2 separate regions of the Homo sapiens genome follow, and region 1 is linked to region 2. The links are contacts of gene promoters, found by promoter capture Hi-C in blood cells and fetal thymus (Javierre and others, 2016). All regions are on one chromosome and are shown on one strand. The core of a region is centred on a gene start or on the middle of the fragment in contact, and the rest is flanking DNA. Distances in the headings are between cores, read along the strand shown. Region 1 overlaps SHROOM3 (shroom family member 3). Region 2 holds the start of CCNI (cyclin I).

Region 1 (3,879 bases), core at 1,237-3,736, 560 kb before region 2:
AGGAGTTCAAGACCAGCCTGGGAAACATAGTGAGACCCATTTGTTAAAAAAGTTCAGATGTGGTGGCTCACACCTGTAATTCCAACACTTTGGGAGGCCAAGGTGGGTGGATCGCTTGAGGTCAGGAGTTCGAGACCAGTCTGGCCAATGTGGTGAAACCCCGTCTCTACTACAAATACAAAAATTAGCTGGGCATGGTGCTGGAAGCCTGTAATCCCAGCTACTTGGGAGGCTGAGGCAGGAGAATTGCTTGAACCCAAGAGGTAGAAGTTGCAGTGAGCTGAGATCACGCCTCTGCACTCCAGCCTGGGTGACAGAGCAAAACTCTGTCTAAAAAAAAAAAAAAAAAAAAAAATTAGCTGGATGTTGTGGCATGTGCCTGTAGTCCTAACTACTCAGGAGCCTGAGGCAGAAGGATCAGTTGAGTCCAGGAGGTTGAGGCTACAGTGAGCCAAGATGGTGCCACTGCATTCCAGCCTGGATGACATAATGAGAACTTGTCTGAAAAAAAAAAGGAAGGAAGGAAGAAAATGAAAACCAAACAAGAGAAGAGAGGCTGATTCCATGATTTTCAACACAATAGAAATTTCCATTGTTCTCTGAGATTCCCTTGGGCTCTGGTCTTCAGAATGTTATTGTTATTATTATTATTTCCTTTAGAACTTCTAATGAGCACATTGACCATTGCTTCCAGGTTTTCGAATTGTCCTTTGCCCTTAAACTCCTCAGTGGCTTGGGTTTTATTCCAATAGAGCAGAGGATATGAAATATTTCTTGGTTAATGTTTCTGGGTTTGCAGTATCAGTCAGTGACCAGAGTTGGATTTTACGTCTAAAAACCATATAAACTCAAGCCGAGACTTGTCTGGGTGTAGACTTCCCATTGCCAAATTTAATTTTATTATTTAAAGTCATGTTGAGAAGTCATGTAGGTGGTCTTTCTTCTAAGCTAGGACAGACTTATCAGTCTCACTTGCCTGGTACTACTTTATGAGGTAAATAATTAATTTGAGATATTAGGCATAAGCTGGTCTTGATCTGTTCTCAAACTCCAGGTGGGTAGAAAGCTCAACTGTTGACACAGGGCCTGGCATGGGAAATGATTACATGGGAAGCCATGTCTGATAACCAGAAATGATACTTCATAATAACACAAAGATAATGAGAGAGATTGGGAGTCAGGTTAGTGTGTGAAACTAGCAGTAGACCGAGAGGGAAAGTGGGTTGTGATCCTTCTTTGAAGTCACCACAGAGTCTTTCTGCTCCTTCACCCACTATGGTTAGTGAATGACCAAGGATACTGACTTTACCTCCTACTATTACTCAAATGTATATCTCTTCTCCGTCATTTCTCCTGTTCAGTTCCTCTTTCTCTCTAGCCTGGTCAATTGCAATATCTTTGTAACATGTTTTCTAGACTGTAATATTGCTCCTATTATCCATCCTTCCAACTAGGAAAGTAATATTCCTGAAGTCCAAATCATGCCATGTCCCTACCTTATTAGTTCTCTGTGTTGAGATCAGATGAAGCTATAGGCAGAGATGCTCTTATGACATGAAGGACTGGGGTTCCCTTGTAAGACCATCAGAATTTGCCCTATCTAAGCCCCTACTCAGGAGCCTAGAGGAATCCCTGAACTGAATGGTCTGAGTCAGCTGATACTCTCAGATAACAGCACTTTGCTCATAATATATGAAAACAGGAGCATGATTTAGAAAAAAAAAAGGAACCAAAATCACCAGCTAATAGATATTATGCAATAAGCACATTACAGAAACACAAAGTCCTGGTGTACATCACCAGGGCAGTCCCTGAGGACAGTCTAGCCAATAACTACACTTAAGTTGGGTCTCCAGATCTGATTTTCTAAGTTTCTGATCCTGGATCCTTTCATAAATTATAGCTGCTACCTCCAATCCCACCCCAAGTCTCATGAACAGGAAATCTGTGAAAAAGTTTTACAGGGAGGTTTGAGAACTCCCTCTGAGCTAGCCAATCCAGAGTCTTGCTTTCAGCCAAGCTTCCATCATACCCAGATTTTAATGATGAGTTATTTATGTTCTCACTTAAGGAAATCCTTTCCTACCCTTTGGAACTTCTATTTATCTTGTTATTAAAACTGTCTTCAAATAGATTTCCTGCTGCAATACAACACACTTGGTGACTTTCTCAGTCTTACAATGGGATTAGATATTTAGTGCTGAAAGGATCATTGCAAGGAGAGCAATCAGGTTTCTTCTCAGTGACAACTGCTTGGTCTTCTTTGCTGTAAAAGAACTTTGCTTTGAGCTTTGATACATGGAAAATGTCTGCCAGAGGCCCTGGTGAGAAAGAGTCCGTGTGTCTGCCCATCTTGGGTCATACCCTTGTCATCCAGGAACTAACAAGTCACCCCAGTTTACATGCAGTTGGCATTGGATGGGTGTAGGCAAATCACCTGGACTATCAAAGATACAGTGTCTAAAAAAGGCTCACTTCCTCCCTATCCCAGGTGGTAACACTGCATCGCAAGTACAGGGCATCCCAAATACAGAACATCCCTAACCCTGCATGCCCAGGGCACTGTTCTCAGCTCTGCTGGTCTGACCAGGTAGTTTCACAGAATTCTTGCTTGGTTAACTTGTAGTTTTTTGACATGATGTGCTAGATAGGTAAGATTTAGGATTCTTATCCATGTAAATGAAACTTAAAAAGAATTTCTCCTGATTGAGTTGCTTAGGGTTTTTGTTTGTTTGTTTGGTATATATATATATATATATAAAGGGGATGTTAGGGCTGTAGTCAGTGGCTGATTATTTGAAAATTTCTTCAACAATATGGGTTCTGTTCTGCTAATTCTCAGACCAATGAGGGCCTGTGTATGCTAGCAGAGAGAGGAAAAGACTAGGGTTTTCAGATTAGGACTCTGGGCCAGAATTTGTTACCATGTGACCTTGGACCACTCATTTAACCAAAGCTTCCCAGCCATTCCCCGTGGAAAGGAAGTGGATTGAATGACCTCCCGGTAGCCTCACCGGGATATTGCGGCTGCAGCAGAGCAAGGGCTGCATATAGAAGAGGAACATGAAGACTTTTTCCTTACAAAGTAAATGATATGAATTGACTGTGGTAAAGTTTCTAAATCAGATTTTTTTTAGTCCAGAGGGACAGCTTTTAAAATGAGAGATTTATTTAAGTTATAAGGAAATATCTGTCAACCCTCAGAAATTGCAAGATGATTATTTTGGTTGTGTGTGTGTATGTGTGTGTGTATTCCTAGTGGAGGGTGAGAGCTTGACTCTTAAGAATCATATAAAATATCAAATTATCTCAACTTCTGATAAATAGGGGGAAAGACAGACATTTTGGGGAGGTTCAAACCTCTATAATTCTTTAGGCATTTAACCCCCCAAGAGCAGGGACTACATTTATTCATTCGTAGTGTCCTCCACTCCATATCAGCATCTGGCACCTAATATGCACTCCATAAATCTTTGTTGTGGTTGAATGAGATCATTTTCCCCATGTCTTTGAAAGACAGAGGCAAAAACAGAGTGTTCTCATTAATGGACAGGGTTTTATTTCATTTTCTTTCCCCTCCCCCCTCCTTCCTTTTTGCCTGTCTGCCTGCCTGCCTTCCTTCCTTCCTTCTTTCCTTCCTTCCTACCTTCCTTCCTTCCTACCTTCTTCCTTCCTTCCTTCCTTCTTGCCTGCTTGCCTGCCTGCCTGCCTGCCTGTGTTAAATAATCTGAATGATTTCAAAGAATCAAAAATGGCTGTTCACATTTGGTAGGGTTCTACGGAGCTTATCTAACATATTTCTAAATGAGTACTGTAACACATCTGGGGCCAGGCACCCAAGCCTGTTCCTGTGTACTCTCTCATTTGCCTAGAAAACAT
Region 2 (3,867 bases), core at 1-2,500:
AAAACATAAACATTTTAGTTCAAACCCCTTCAGAGTCTGAATCCATCCTACCTCCCGAAACACCTTCCACTGTTTTGATACCCAATTGTCAACTTCTGCCAAAAGGATCTGTAACGGAGCCCCCTAGCTCCAGCGGAGGCTCCTCTGTCCTCCTTTCAAATTCCAGTTATTTAATCTAGCCTTTAGAGCACAACTCAAATCTCACCTCCCCCGGATTCCCCCCACCCACCCGCCCCAAGCCCTGGGTAACGTTGCCCTCCCCCGAATTTCACAGCACCGGAGGTTCACCCCATTCATTTGGCATTCAGTCTGCCGTGCAAAGTTAGTAATCCTCCTGGTGTCCCCGGAGAATCGTTCAACCTGAGGGTGGGGGTGTGTCCCCTTCTTTGTGTATTAACACGGGCTCGTAGAGCCTCCAACACGCACTATAGAGTAGCTAATTTGCCGCTGCCACAAAAAAAAGTTACTCGCTGACAGAAAAACTGGCCCGAAAAGGAACACAGTAGTGCCGTTTTCAAGTGGGCAGGTGACGGGTCTGTCTGGGCCGGAGAGGACGAAGAGGGCGGCCCCGAGGTTCCCCGGGCTGGGGGATGCGGGAGGGTGGGTCTCCGGCGAGCAGCGCGCGGCCAAGGGCGCTGCCACGGGGGCGGCGCGGGGGGAGCAGCGGGGCCCCAGCGCGTCGACGCCGGCCGCGGAGACGCGTCGAGCCCCCGCCCCCGCCCCCGCCCCTCACCTTCTCCTCCTCTTCCTCCTCCTCCTCCTCCCCGGCAGAGCTGTAGGCCTCACAGTGGTGACGCGGGGTCATCCGGGGGCCCGTTACCACCTCATTCTCATAGGCGCGCGGAGGCGGTGCGCGCGGGACGACTCGGCCAACTGAGGAGGGAGAAAGGGGAAGCGGATCGGGGGGCGCGGGCGCGGGCGCTGGCGCTCGAGCGGGACGCACGGCTGCGGCCGCTGGGTCGGTCAGCGAATTAGTTCCATGATGACCCCCGGCCTGAGGCCGCCGCCGCTCGAGCCCGGGTTGGGAGGGGGCTCCCTCTCGCCATAGGGCGGCGGGGGCCGGGGAGAGGCGGGGGGTGAGACCGGCTCTGCCCCTGCCCGGGGAAAGCGCCTCCGAGGGGAAATGGTGAAAGGGGGGGAGGGGAGAAAAGAAAAGAAAAAAAAAAAAAGAAAGGGGAAAGGGGGGAAAAATAAGAAAAAGCGAGACAGAGGCGCTGCCGCGTCCGCTCGCGGGGAAGGCTGGGGAGGGAGGGGAAGAGAGGGGAAGGGAGGAAGAAGTGCCGGCTTCCTCGGCTCCGCCCTCGCGGACCGATTCCTAGACTCGCCCACTCCTTGTAAACTACGCGGACTTGGTCTTTCACCCTTCCTGTTCCTCCCCGCCGCCTTCCCGGTCCAACGAAAGTACAGAGAAGTGCGGCCGAAAGGAGACGGGCTGGGGAAGTCGTTGGCACTAGGATGGAAGGAGGGAGGACGTTTTCTCGTGGCTAAGAAAAGCCGAAGGTCCGTGGACTCATTTTCCTTGAAGGAGCGGAAGGGTTGCTTGCAGACCGCACGGTGACGTCAGCGTCTCTGGGCCCCCACTGAGGGGGCGTGCGGTGGCCGGAGAGTGCGCTGCGCATGCGCCTGGGGAAGAAAGAAGCGGCCGAGCGCTGCGCTTGGGGGAGGGGATTTCACGATCCGCTCCTGTGGTCCAGCTTTACAGCAGCTTGGTTTTATCTAGCCCTACTCGTCCCCAGGCTCTTAGAAGGATTCACTGGGAAGGGGCTACTGATCTCTTGGGTGGAGATCTTGCAGATTTGTTGACCTAGCAAAGTATTACGTGTTCTTACCGTTGACATGTAAATAGAATTGCGGTTTTTCTCACTGCCACATTGTGTGGGTGGAGGGAGATTCTAAAGGGTTTTAGGAATCGGAAAATTAGGGAGAATCAAATCATGGGTGCTTAAGGCCTCAGTGAAACACTGTAAATTATACTGCTGACGGCGAGGAACCTGCTTGGCAATGTGGCAAGGGGATTTTATCCACTCAACCAACACGTCTGAGTATTTCCGAATAGGTTTTATTACCAGGTGCTTAAAGAATGTGTGGTGACATAAATGGGTTTTATTTGGGGTTCTGTTAGTACAAACGGTAACTTTTTGCTATTTTGATTGTTTTAATTATTTAAAAATATGTAGTATTACAGAGTTTTGAAAGAGGAAGAGCTAGATCTCAACCATTTATAGAAGTCTCGTTTGTTTTTTCCATTTGTTTTTTATATAGTTATTTTAACTGTCAGTGAAAAAATATGTGTTGAGTTTATTTAGTGGCCAGACTCAGCAAACTGGAAGTAGCCAAGACAGACATAGCTCCTGCCTTCATGGAGTTTACAGTCCAAACAGAGGATAACCATTGAGCTAATTATCACTATGTAAAATTACCAAGTACATTTACTTGTTTACTTGTGCATGTATCCCCTCCCTAGAATATAAGGTCGCAGGCGGCAGGGATCTTGCATGTTTCACCCTCTATCCCTGTGTATAAAAGGCTCTCAATATTTGACCAAGTAAACAATTCTGGTATTAAAACCGTTAAGATGGAAAATCGCCGGCTGCTGTGGAAACGCTTGCCTTTCCGCCTGGTTTGGGATATCAGAGAAGGTTTTTCTGAAGAAGTGACATTTAAGATGAGACTTGAAACCACTGGGCAAAGAATGATACAAGCAGAGGAAGTTATGTGAAAAGGCTCCGAAGCTGAGACGTTCTAAAAATCTCTGAAAGCTAGTGTGGCTGGCCCTCAGACAACTGAGGCAGGATGTGGAAGCAGAGGACAGATGCCATAGAACAGAAGAAGGAATGGGAAGCCCTAGGAGGATTTCAAGTGGGTTGTATCCTTTTTTTTTCTTTTTTTCACTTCATGTAGCCTATTATTATATGGTCTTCATTCAAAAAAGCCACCATTTTTCTGCATGTTACTCTTGAGACTGTAGCATTTCTGCATAATACTATTGAGAGTGTAACATAATTCCATTGTTAGACCATGAAATTGCTTCTGATTTTCACTCCAATAAGAATAATGCAAATTCCACTCCTAAATATATACCCAAGAGAAAGGAAAATATTTGTCCATGCAAAAACTTTTTTACAAACGTTAGCATTATTCATAATAGCCAAAGATGAAACAACCTAAATGTTCATCAGCTGGCGCCTGTATAAATCAAATGTGATACATCTATGTACAATCAAATTTTTATTTTTAAGAGATGGGGTCTGGCTCCGTGGCGCAGATGGGGGTGCCATGAGACTTCCTATGTTGTCCAGGCTGGTCTCAAACTCCTGGCCTCTAGCAATTCTCCCTCCTTAGCCTGAAAGTGATGGGATTACAGGCATGAGCCGTCACACCGACCTATACAATGGAATCTTATTGGGCCATAAAAAGAAAATACTAATACATGCTATAACATGCATAACCTTTGAAAGCAGTATGCTAAATGAAAGAAGCCAGTCACAAAAGACCACATATTATATGATTCCACTTACGTGAATGTCCAGAATAGGCAAATATATAGAGACAGAAAGTAAGGAAGTGGTTGCTTAGGGCTAGGGGCAGGCATGGGATTAGGGGATGATAGTTAAATGATATGGGGGTTTCTTTCTTTTTTTCTTTTCTTTTTTTCTTTTTTTTTTTTTTGGAAACAGGGCCTTGCTCTGTCCCCCAGGCTGCAGGCTGGAGTGCAATGGTGTGAACATGACTCACTGTAGCCTTGACCTCCAGGATCAAGCAATCCTCCTGCCTCAGCCTCCTGTGTAGCTGGAACCACAGGCGCATGCCTCCATGCCCAACTGATTTTTTGAAGGTTTCTTTTTGAGGTGAGAAAAATGTTCTGAG

The links. Contacts are between HindIII fragments. The CHiCAGO score rates a contact against its expected background, and 5 or more counts as called.
Region 1: a fragment that was not itself captured here is called in contact with the fragment with the promoter of CCNI in region 2 in 3 of 17 cell types (M1 macrophages, M0 macrophages and M2 macrophages); the score reaches 6.3 in M1 macrophages.

The regions. Positions count from the first base shown.
Region 1 is chr4:76,514,882-76,518,760 of GRCh38, forward strand. The region is part of intron 1 of SHROOM3 (shroom family member 3); the gene reads left to right. Among named protein-coding and RNA genes, the nearest start is that of MIR4450, 57 kb to the right of the region's middle. The HindIII fragment of the contact is 936 bases long and covers 2,019-2,954 here.
Region 2 is chr4:77,074,739-77,078,605 of GRCh38, forward strand. It overlaps CCNI (cyclin I), which reads right to left and starts at 1,251. Exons shown (of 7, transcript NM_006835.3): 1 at 734-1,251. RefSeq lists silencers at 579-728, 789-1,138 and enhancers at 1,319-1,548, 1,447-2,417. The HindIII fragment of the contact is 6,616 bases long and covers 1-3,867 here.